2 separate regions of the Homo sapiens genome follow, and region 2 is linked to region 1. Evidence: promoter capture Hi-C in human tissues and cell types (Jung and others, 2019). All regions are on one chromosome and are shown on one strand. Each heading gives the region's core, a stretch centred on a gene start or on the middle of the fragment in contact. The rest is flanking DNA. Distances are from core to core; before and after follow the strand shown.

The links. Contacts are between HindIII fragments. The study calls those that stand out against the background at their distance.
Region 2: a contact is called between a fragment that was not itself captured here and the fragment with the promoter of DFFA in region 1, in 1 of the 25 tissues and cell types used here (aorta).

The regions. Positions count from the first base shown.
Region 1 is chr1:10,470,404-10,474,768 of GRCh38, reverse strand. DFFA (DNA fragmentation factor subunit alpha) reads left to right here and starts at 2,240. Exons shown (of 6, transcript NM_004401.3): 1 at 2,240-2,446. The coding sequence starts at 2,311. RefSeq lists enhancers at 1-710, 2,672-2,771. The HindIII fragment of the contact is 16,915 bases long and covers 1-4,365 here.
Region 2 is chr1:11,721,815-11,726,179 of GRCh38, reverse strand. It overlaps DRAXIN (dorsal inhibitory axon guidance protein), which reads right to left. Exons shown (of 7, transcript NM_198545.4): 7 at 323-4,365. Among named protein-coding and RNA genes, the nearest start is that of AGTRAP, 12 kb to the left of the region's middle. The HindIII fragment of the contact is 8,805 bases long and covers 1-4,365 here.

The DNA.
Region 1 (4,365 bases), core at 991-3,490:
TCTATATCTTCTTTGCGTTGTTATATGTGTATTATTCTGGTTTTGCTTTTTTTTTTTGAGACGGAGTTTCGCACTTGTTGCCTAGGCTGGAGTGCAATGGCGCGATATCGGCTCACCGCAACCTCAGCCTCCCGGTTTCAAGTGATTCTCCTGCCTCAGCCTCCCGAGTAGCTGGGATTGCAGGCATGCGCCACCATGCCCGGCTAACATTGTATTTTTAGTAGAGATGGAGTTTCTCCATGTTGGTCAGGCTGCTCTCGAACTCCCGACCTCAGGTGATCTGCCCGCCTCGGCCTCCCAAAGTGTTGGGATTACAGAAGTGAGCCACAGCGCCCGGCCCATATTATTCTTATTGAGTTAATCTCTGCCCATCCCCACAGTGCCATGGGCACATTTAGGGACTTGCCAATGGATGAATGCGAAGAAACTTGGAAATTAATTTTTAGACATCAGTTCAGTTCCATTCATTGAGTGCCTACTATATGCTAGGGACTTTGGTAGGCCTTGAAATAAAAACATTCAAGACTCAATCCCTACTCCCACGCCCAGGCCAAACACACTTACAATTACAGTATTATGGGGATAGGACTCGGATAAGTGTGCAGGTCTATTGGGAGAACATAAAAGGGGGCATTTTGAAGAGAAGAGGCTTCTACAAAACGTCATTATTTTACACTGGTTGAATTGTTAGATTTTTTTAATTGTTAGATTTTAAATTAAATATTGGACGGGAGCAGTGGCTCACACCTGTAATCCCAACACTTTAGGAGGCCAAGGCAGGAGGATCCCTTGAGCCCAGGAGGTTGAGGCTGCAGTGAACTATGATTATGCCACTGCACTCCAGCCTGGGCGACAGAGCGAGACCTTGTCTAAAAATAAGATAAGAAAATAAAAAATGAAATTATATGAAAAAGGATACATACATTAGAGTTAACCGCCAGCTCCTATTATAGTTGTGTTTTGATCAATATAGACTGCTTAAAAGGGATGACTTAATGAATAATTCCTCCTACTAAACGCTGTTTTAAATGTCTAAACTTTTCTTGAGATAATATCCAATTTCCTCTCCCACGTTTTTTTTGTTTGTTTTTGCTTTTGTTTTTGTTTTTGCTTGAGACGAAGTCTTGCTCCTGACGCCCAGGCTGGAGTGCAATGGTGCGATCTGGGCCGACTGCAACCTCCGCCTCCCGGGTTCAAGCGATTCACCTGCCTCAGCCTCCCAAGAGCTGGGACTACAGGCGTGCGCCATCACGCCCGGCTAATTTTTGTATTTTTAGTAGAGATAGGGTTTCACCATGCTGGCCAGGCTGGTCTCAAACTACTGACCTCAGATCATCTGTCCGCCTCGGCCTCCTAAAGTGCTGAGATTACAGGGGTGAGCCACCGCCCCCGGGGCCCTTGCCCACGTTTTTATAAACAAAATATGAGGTGGGAGGATTGCTTGAGCCCAGGAGATCAAAACTGCAGTGAGCCATCATCGCGCCACTGCACTCCAGCCTGGGAGACAGAGCGAAACGCTGTCTCAAAAAAAGAAAAAAGAAACAAGGAAGGAAAGTGTCCCCCGAATGAATAAATATGAGCAGATAATTACTTCTAGTTTACATAAAATGCCCTCTTTTAAGAGAGGAACTTTTTGATCATTTTTATTACTATTCTTTTAATCTTAGATGTTTATTTTTCAGGAGGAAAAAAACAAACTTTTCCATAGTAGCAGTATTAAAACAAAGATGAATATGTTGTCAAGAGGCATCTGAACAATCTCCAACAGTGCCGAGTCGCATTTCCCCTTTCCTCTCCGATGCATTTGAGACTTTAATGCTTACTATATTTATTTAAGCGTTTTGTTCTGAGACCCCAAACTAATTTGCACAGTTGAAGCAGGAAATAGAATGGGTGGAAACATGCGGGTGTCTGTATTAGCATTATGCATCTCATATGCGAATAGGAATGCTCTAAAAATTCAATACAGTATACATGCGTGTGCATCGTCATGCAAAATAAGTCTCTATTGGCCTTATATTTGAACGCGCGAATGCAGCTCCTAAAAGTTAAAAACAACTCCTAGGCTGAATCGCGCGATAGAACGAAAGCGGCTTTAAACCCAGAGACTACAGTTTCCGGCATGCTTCGACGCCACACGTGATTAGCGGCAACTAGAACTACATTTCCCGGCGTGCCCTGGTCTCACGTGTGATTTGCTGCGGAACGAACTACATCTCCCGGCAGGCTGCGGAAGGGGGTCGAGTAGAAGGACCGCCGCTCCGGCCTCCCGCGACTTCTCGAAGGTGGGCAGGTCCCACCTTGTGGAGGATGGAGGTGACCGGGGACGCCGGGGTACCAGAATCTGGCGAGATCCGGACTCTAAAGCCGTGTCTGCTGCGCCGCAACTACAGCCGCGAACAGCACGGCGTGGCCGCCTCCTGCCTCGAAGACCTGAGGAGCAAGGGTTGGCTCGGGACCCCGGGCGAGGGTGTGGGGGAGCCAGGGCCGGGTGAGGACGTCCGGCGGGGGCGAGGCGGGGTCAGGAGAGGCGACTTGGGGATTCTTGTATCTCGGGTGGAGGCTTGGGACAGAAACGGTCCGAGTGGGCATAGCGATTTACAGATTTAAGGCGCTTGAGCGTAATTAATCTCGTGTGAGACTCCACGGTGGTGGGAAGACAGCCAGGAAGCAATGTGCAAATTAAGCCAGACTCGGCTTAGGTCTCTTGCCTGAAATCACTTCGATGTTGGACCAAACGGACCCCACTGGGTTCCTGCCACTCCGCCACACTCAGATGGTACAAGAACCCCCAGCTGAGCCCACGGCGGTGTGGGGAGGGGTTTCCACCGTCCGCTCTGGCAGGAACCTATGCAGGAAAGAGGGAGCTGCTACTGACCATTTCTGGAGGTCCAGACAAGGAACGTGAGTTGTAAGTGACGGAGCCGACGGAAGTTCCGAGCCCGGCCCCATACCTTTACCAGCTGCTTGGCCTTGCACTTAACCAGCTCTCAACCCTCAGTTTTCTCATCAGCAAATTGGGTATAATATTTATAGCCCTGCTTCAAAGGGTTGTTGGTTCTCTCAAATAAGATGATATATTTAAGTGACTTACAAGTCTTATTAGCCAGTAGCAACAAATCGCTTACCCAAAGAAGTTTTACAGGTTACATGTGTGAGCCAGCCCCAGGCATGTAGTCACAGTGTGTGTCAGAGGGCACAGTTGCTTCCTCTCAGTCACCAACAGAAATCATATGGAAATTTTCAGAGACCCATGAACAGCCAAAGCATTATAAATGCTTTGGTAACATGGATTTTGCATATAAGCATTTATGTATTTTTTTTCCTGACATTAGATTACTTTACTTCTAATTCCCCTTCAGTGCCGTGGCTGGATGTGCGTGGCACAGAGGCTGGTGTTCTCTGCAGTCCAGCGCATACATGCCTTGCTGTTCTATTGGGTGGTAGACAACACCGCTGAAGGATATTTGTAGTCTCTTGGCTATTTCTGATCACTCCAGTCCCGTTAGTATTTGAAGCATTGCTATCACTAAATGGAATAGTACAGACCTGTCCTGGAGAAAGCCTCTCCGCCAATGATAATGATATGAAAAGCTACTGATAGAAGCTTCCACTTCTTTTATACTTTCCCATAGGTTAGAAAAGAAGCTGCTAAGGAAGATACTGTAAAGAACAAAAAGCATTTTCTTTTTTTTTTTTTTTTTTTGAGACGGAGTGTCACTCTGTCACCCAGGCTGGAGTGCAGTGGCGCTATCTCGGCTCACTGCAAGCTCCGCCTCCCGGGTTCACTCCATTCTCCTGCTTCAGCCTCCCGAGTAGCTGGGACTACAGGCGCCCACCACCACGCCCATCTAATTTTTTGTATTTTTTAGCAGAGACGGTTTTTCACCATGTTAGCCAGGATGGTCTCGATTGCCTGCTTTGTGATCCACCCGCCTCGGCCTCCCAAAGTGCTGGGATTACAGACGTGAGCCACCGTGCCTGGCCTTTTTGGTGTATTTTTTGACATTTTTACACATAGGAGAATTTAAGAGGACACCTGAGGGCCGGGTCCGGTGGCTCACACCTGTAATCCCAGCACTTTGGGAGGCCGAGGTGGGCGGATCACGAGGTCAGGAGATCGAGACCATCCTGGCTAACACGGTGAAACCCCGTCTCTACTAAAAATACAAAAAAATTAGCCGGGCGTGGTGGTGGGCGCCTGTAATCCCAGCTACTCCGGAGGCTGAAGCAGGAGAATGGCGTGAACCCGGGGGGCGGAGCTTGCAGTGAGCCCAGATAGCGCCTGGGCACTCCAGCCTGGGCGACAGAGTGAGACTCCGTCTCAAAAAAAAAAAAAAAAAAAAGAGGAAAACTGAATAAATG
Region 2 (4,365 bases), core at 950-3,449, 1.3 Mb before region 1:
AGAAGTTGCAGTGAGCCGAGACCGTGCCACTTTACTCCAGCATGGGTGACAGAGCAAGACTCTGTCTAAAAAAAAAAAAACAACAAAAAAATCTGAGACTCGCAGTCAAGAGGTCTGGCTGAGGGATTATGATGAGGACCAGGCGAGGGCAGGGGTCCTGTCTGCCTTGTTTGCTGCTTAGCTCAGGGCAAATGCTCAGTCCAGTGTGTTGAGAAGTCATAGGTGGAATACCAGGCTAAGGATCCCCTCCAAATGCCCCTGTAGAGCTCACTACCAGCACAGACAGACCGTCTCCTGGAGGAACAAAGAGAGACACCAGGTGGGCTTTTTAACCATCGTCTCTTTATTTACAGCTCAAGAGCACATGCAACATGACATCATGAAACTACAAGGGCGTGGCACTTCCCCCTCCCCCTGCCGCTCCCCAACTTTAAAAAGGAAGTACAGCACCCTAGGAAGTTGCCTAAGAGTCAGAAAACCCTACACTGAGGGTCCCAGGCCGAGGTGCTCCATTCATTGCCTCCAAAAATAAAGACCAGTTGCAGCCCAGGAGGCTTGGGCCTCAGAGCCTGGGAGTTTGTCATTGCTGGTAATTAGCTACGCAAAACAGGTCTCGGATTTGCCAGCTCACACCTGAATACAAATAGCCCGAATTATCCGAATGTCCCTGACCACCCCACATTTCTGTTTTCCCCGTCGTATCCTAGACCTGTGATTCTCAAATTTGATCGTGCCCAAGAATGACCTGGAGAACTTGTGAAAAGCCAAATGGCTGGGCCCCACCCCCAGAGATTCTGGCTCAGTAGGCGTGGGGTGGTGGGGCCCAAGAATCTACATTTCTTTTTGTTTTTTTTGTCTTTTTTTGAGACAAGGTCTCGCTGTATTGCCTAAGCTGGAGTGCAGTGGTGCGATCATGGCTCACTGCAGCCTCAACCTCTTGGGCTCAAGCGATCCTCCCACCTCAGCCTGGAGAATAGCTGGGACTACAGGTGTGCACCACCATGCCCGGCTAATTTTGTTATTTTTTGCAGAGATGAGGTCTCCCTATGTTGCCTAGGCTAAGATTCTGCATTTCTACCAAGCTCCCAGGTGCTGTTACTGGCCCGGGACCGTAATCTTGAGTGTCTAAGGTCTAGAAAGCCTCTTGCACCCAGAAGTGACCCAGCCATGGATCCTGTATCAGACTGCTTGTTCTGACTTAGAATTCAGAAAATACACTCCCTGCAATATAAACCCCTGGTTCTGCAAACTGCCCTTCCCAGGAAAGGCAACCGTCCCTGCTAACCTCCTCCCCAGGAAACACACACAGTCACCATTGCCTGTCAGAGTGAAGACTATCACAGAGGTGACAGGGCTCAGTCCAACCCCGTGAAACCCCCAGTGAGGAGCCACAGTGGTTTGCTTCTCTGGCCTCTCCACTGTCTCTCCTAGCACCATTTTCCTGGCTGTTCTGTTGTTTTATAAACCGGTTCCTTGCAGGTTTCAGGTATGCTGTCTCTCCAGCTGCAGAGTGAGCCCCACGGCAGGGGCCGTGTGCCCACCACCTCAATGTTAGGTTTTGTTGGGTGGGTTGAATATGGCTTGAAATAAGGACCCACCTCCAGCAGCTCAGTGGTAGAAGGGGTTGTGGCTTTAGGATTTACTTTGTGGCTTGGTCACTCCTCAAGGGGCTGTGAAGCTGTCATTTTCCCACAAGCCTTGGCCCTCATGTCATTGCATGCTCAGCCTATTCCCAGCAGGCATGGAAACCACTCTTGGTGTCTCCAGACAAACTACGGAAAGGCAGCCCTGTGGGAACAGCAGGTATTCCTGGGATCCGCGGTGAGACTCCAGCTGGAGGAGTGCAGGAGGGTTCAGGCCACGGGCCCAGCAGCTACTGGTTGCCACCTGGCCTCCTGCTCAGCTCCCCCACTCCACCCAGGGTATCATTTTAGACTCCAGCACCCATTTTATTGCAAAGCCACTTACTCCTCCAGCCCTGCCTCGGTGCCTGGAATCTGCACATGCTGCCAAGGGCTGAGGCCAGAACAGTTTTCCAAACCTCTCTGACCATGGAACCGTACCCTGACCCTTTCTAATAGAGCATCTCATGGTCCCAGTGTTCTATGGAACACACTTTGGGGAAGGAGCTTGAATGGTGACTTAGAAATGATCTCAGAGTATGTGATGGGTCATTGTCAAAGAACCGACATCTAAAATTCTCCTAGAATAACAAATTAGCTAACACTGGAGGTTTATTAGGTGCTAGGCACTGTTCTAAACACCTTATAAGAATTCTGCGTTCACAGGCCAGGCATGCTGGCTCATGCCTGTAATCCCAGCACTTTGGGAGGCTGAGACGGGGGGATCACCTGAGGTCAGGAGTTTGAGACCAGCCTGGCCAACATGGTGAAACCCCATCTCTACTAAAAATACAAACAGTAACCGGGCGTGGTGATGCTTGCCTATAATCCCAGGTACGCGAGAGGCTGAGGCGGGAGAATCACTTGTACCCAGGAGGCAGAGGTCGCAGTGAGCCGAGATCGTGCCACTGCACTCCAGCCTGGGCAACAAGAGTGAAACTCTGTCTCAAAAGAAAAAAAAAAAAAAAGAAGTATGCATTCACTACTCACAACAACCCTATGAAGGGAGAGTTATTATTCCCATTTTACAGATGAAAAAATCAAGGCACAGAGACCTTAAGAAACTTTCCTAAGGTTGCCAAAGCTGTGAGAGGTGGAATAGGTGGATTTAACACCAGCCACACTGCTACAGATGGAAGGGGAGAGCAGAGACTCTCCGCCCCAGCTGCACCTGAAGTTACCTGGGAGAAAAACTATGAAGCCCAGACCAAACAAAACAGAAGCTTTGTGGGTGGGCCCCAGGCCTGTGAATGTTCCTGGATTATTGCAACGTGCAGCCAGCGTTGAGAGTGAGCAGGCTTGAGCAGGGGTTGGCAAACCGTGACCCTCAGGCCAAATCTGCCCCACTGCCTGGTTTTGCGCAGTTGGCAAGCAAAGAGCAGTTTTTGCACTTTTAAATGGTTTTAGAAAATTAAACTAATAATATTTTATGGCCAGGTGCGGTGGCTCACACCTGTAATCCCAGCATTTTGGGAGGCTGAGGCGGGCGGATCACCTGAGGTCAGAAGTTTGAGACCAGCCTGGCCAACATGGTAAAACCTTATCTCTACTAAAAATACAAAAATTAACCAGGTGTGGTGGCACATGCCTGTAGTCACAGCTACTTGGGAGGCTGAGGCAGGAGAATTGCTTGAACCTGGGATGAAGAGGTTGCAGTGAGCTGAGACTGAGCCACTGCATTCCAGCCTGGGCAGCAGAGCAAAACTCCATCTCCAAAAAAAAAAAAAAGGAAAGAGAGAATAATATTTTGTGACATGTGAAAAGTATACAGAATTCACATGTGTGTCCAGAAATAGTTTTCCTGGAGCATAGCCATGAATTCATTTACACACTCTCTGTGGCTGCTTCGAGCTACGGCAGAGCTGAGTAGCTGGTGGAGATCAGATGGCTTGCAAATCCTAAAATGTTTATTTGGCTCCTCACAGTAAAAGTTTGCTAAACCCTGGATTAGAGGAAACTGGCTTCTGTATGAGCAAAATAAATTTAAGATAGACCTAAGGAAGAACTTCCTGGCAGAGAGGTTGGTTAGACACTTGAGAGGGCTTTGGGATTCCCAGCTCTGGAGTTAAGAGGTTCCATCCACCCATCCCTCTTTGGAAATGTCAAATAGAGATAGCTAGGGCAAAGAGACGGGCCTTGAATTTCCAACCATGGAACTACCCTGGCAACCAGTGGCAGTTCTATGGGCATTTTAGCTTTGTCCTGACCCTCTGTGTTCTCCATGGCTGATGTCCTAGGACCATCTAACAGCTGTCCCCCAGCCATAGTAATGCTGGGCTTTCTTCCGGCGGTACTCCTTAGGGTTCTAGCCCCACAGAGCCAGCACAGTCCCGAGTCACCACTTAATGTGAGGCACACACAGCATGTGTGGGTTGTCTGGTCTCAAGTACGAAGCTGCTGGCAGATCTGCCTTTTTACATTTTTAAGTGTTTTATATTTTTGGAGTCTCACTCTGTCGCCCAGGCTGGAGTGCAATGGCGTGATCTTGGCTCACCGCAACCTCCGCCTCCTGGGTTCAAGTGATTCTCCCGCCTGAGCCTCCTGAGTAGCTGGGATTACAGGCACCTGCCACCATGCCTGGCTAATTTTTGTATTTTTAGTAGAGATGGGGTTTCACCATGTTGGTCAGGCTGTTCTCGAACGCCTTACTTCAAGTGATCTGCCTACCTCGGCCTCCCAGAGTGCTGGGATGTCAGACATGAGCCCTCGTGCCCAGCCTTAATTTTTGTATATTTGGTAGAGA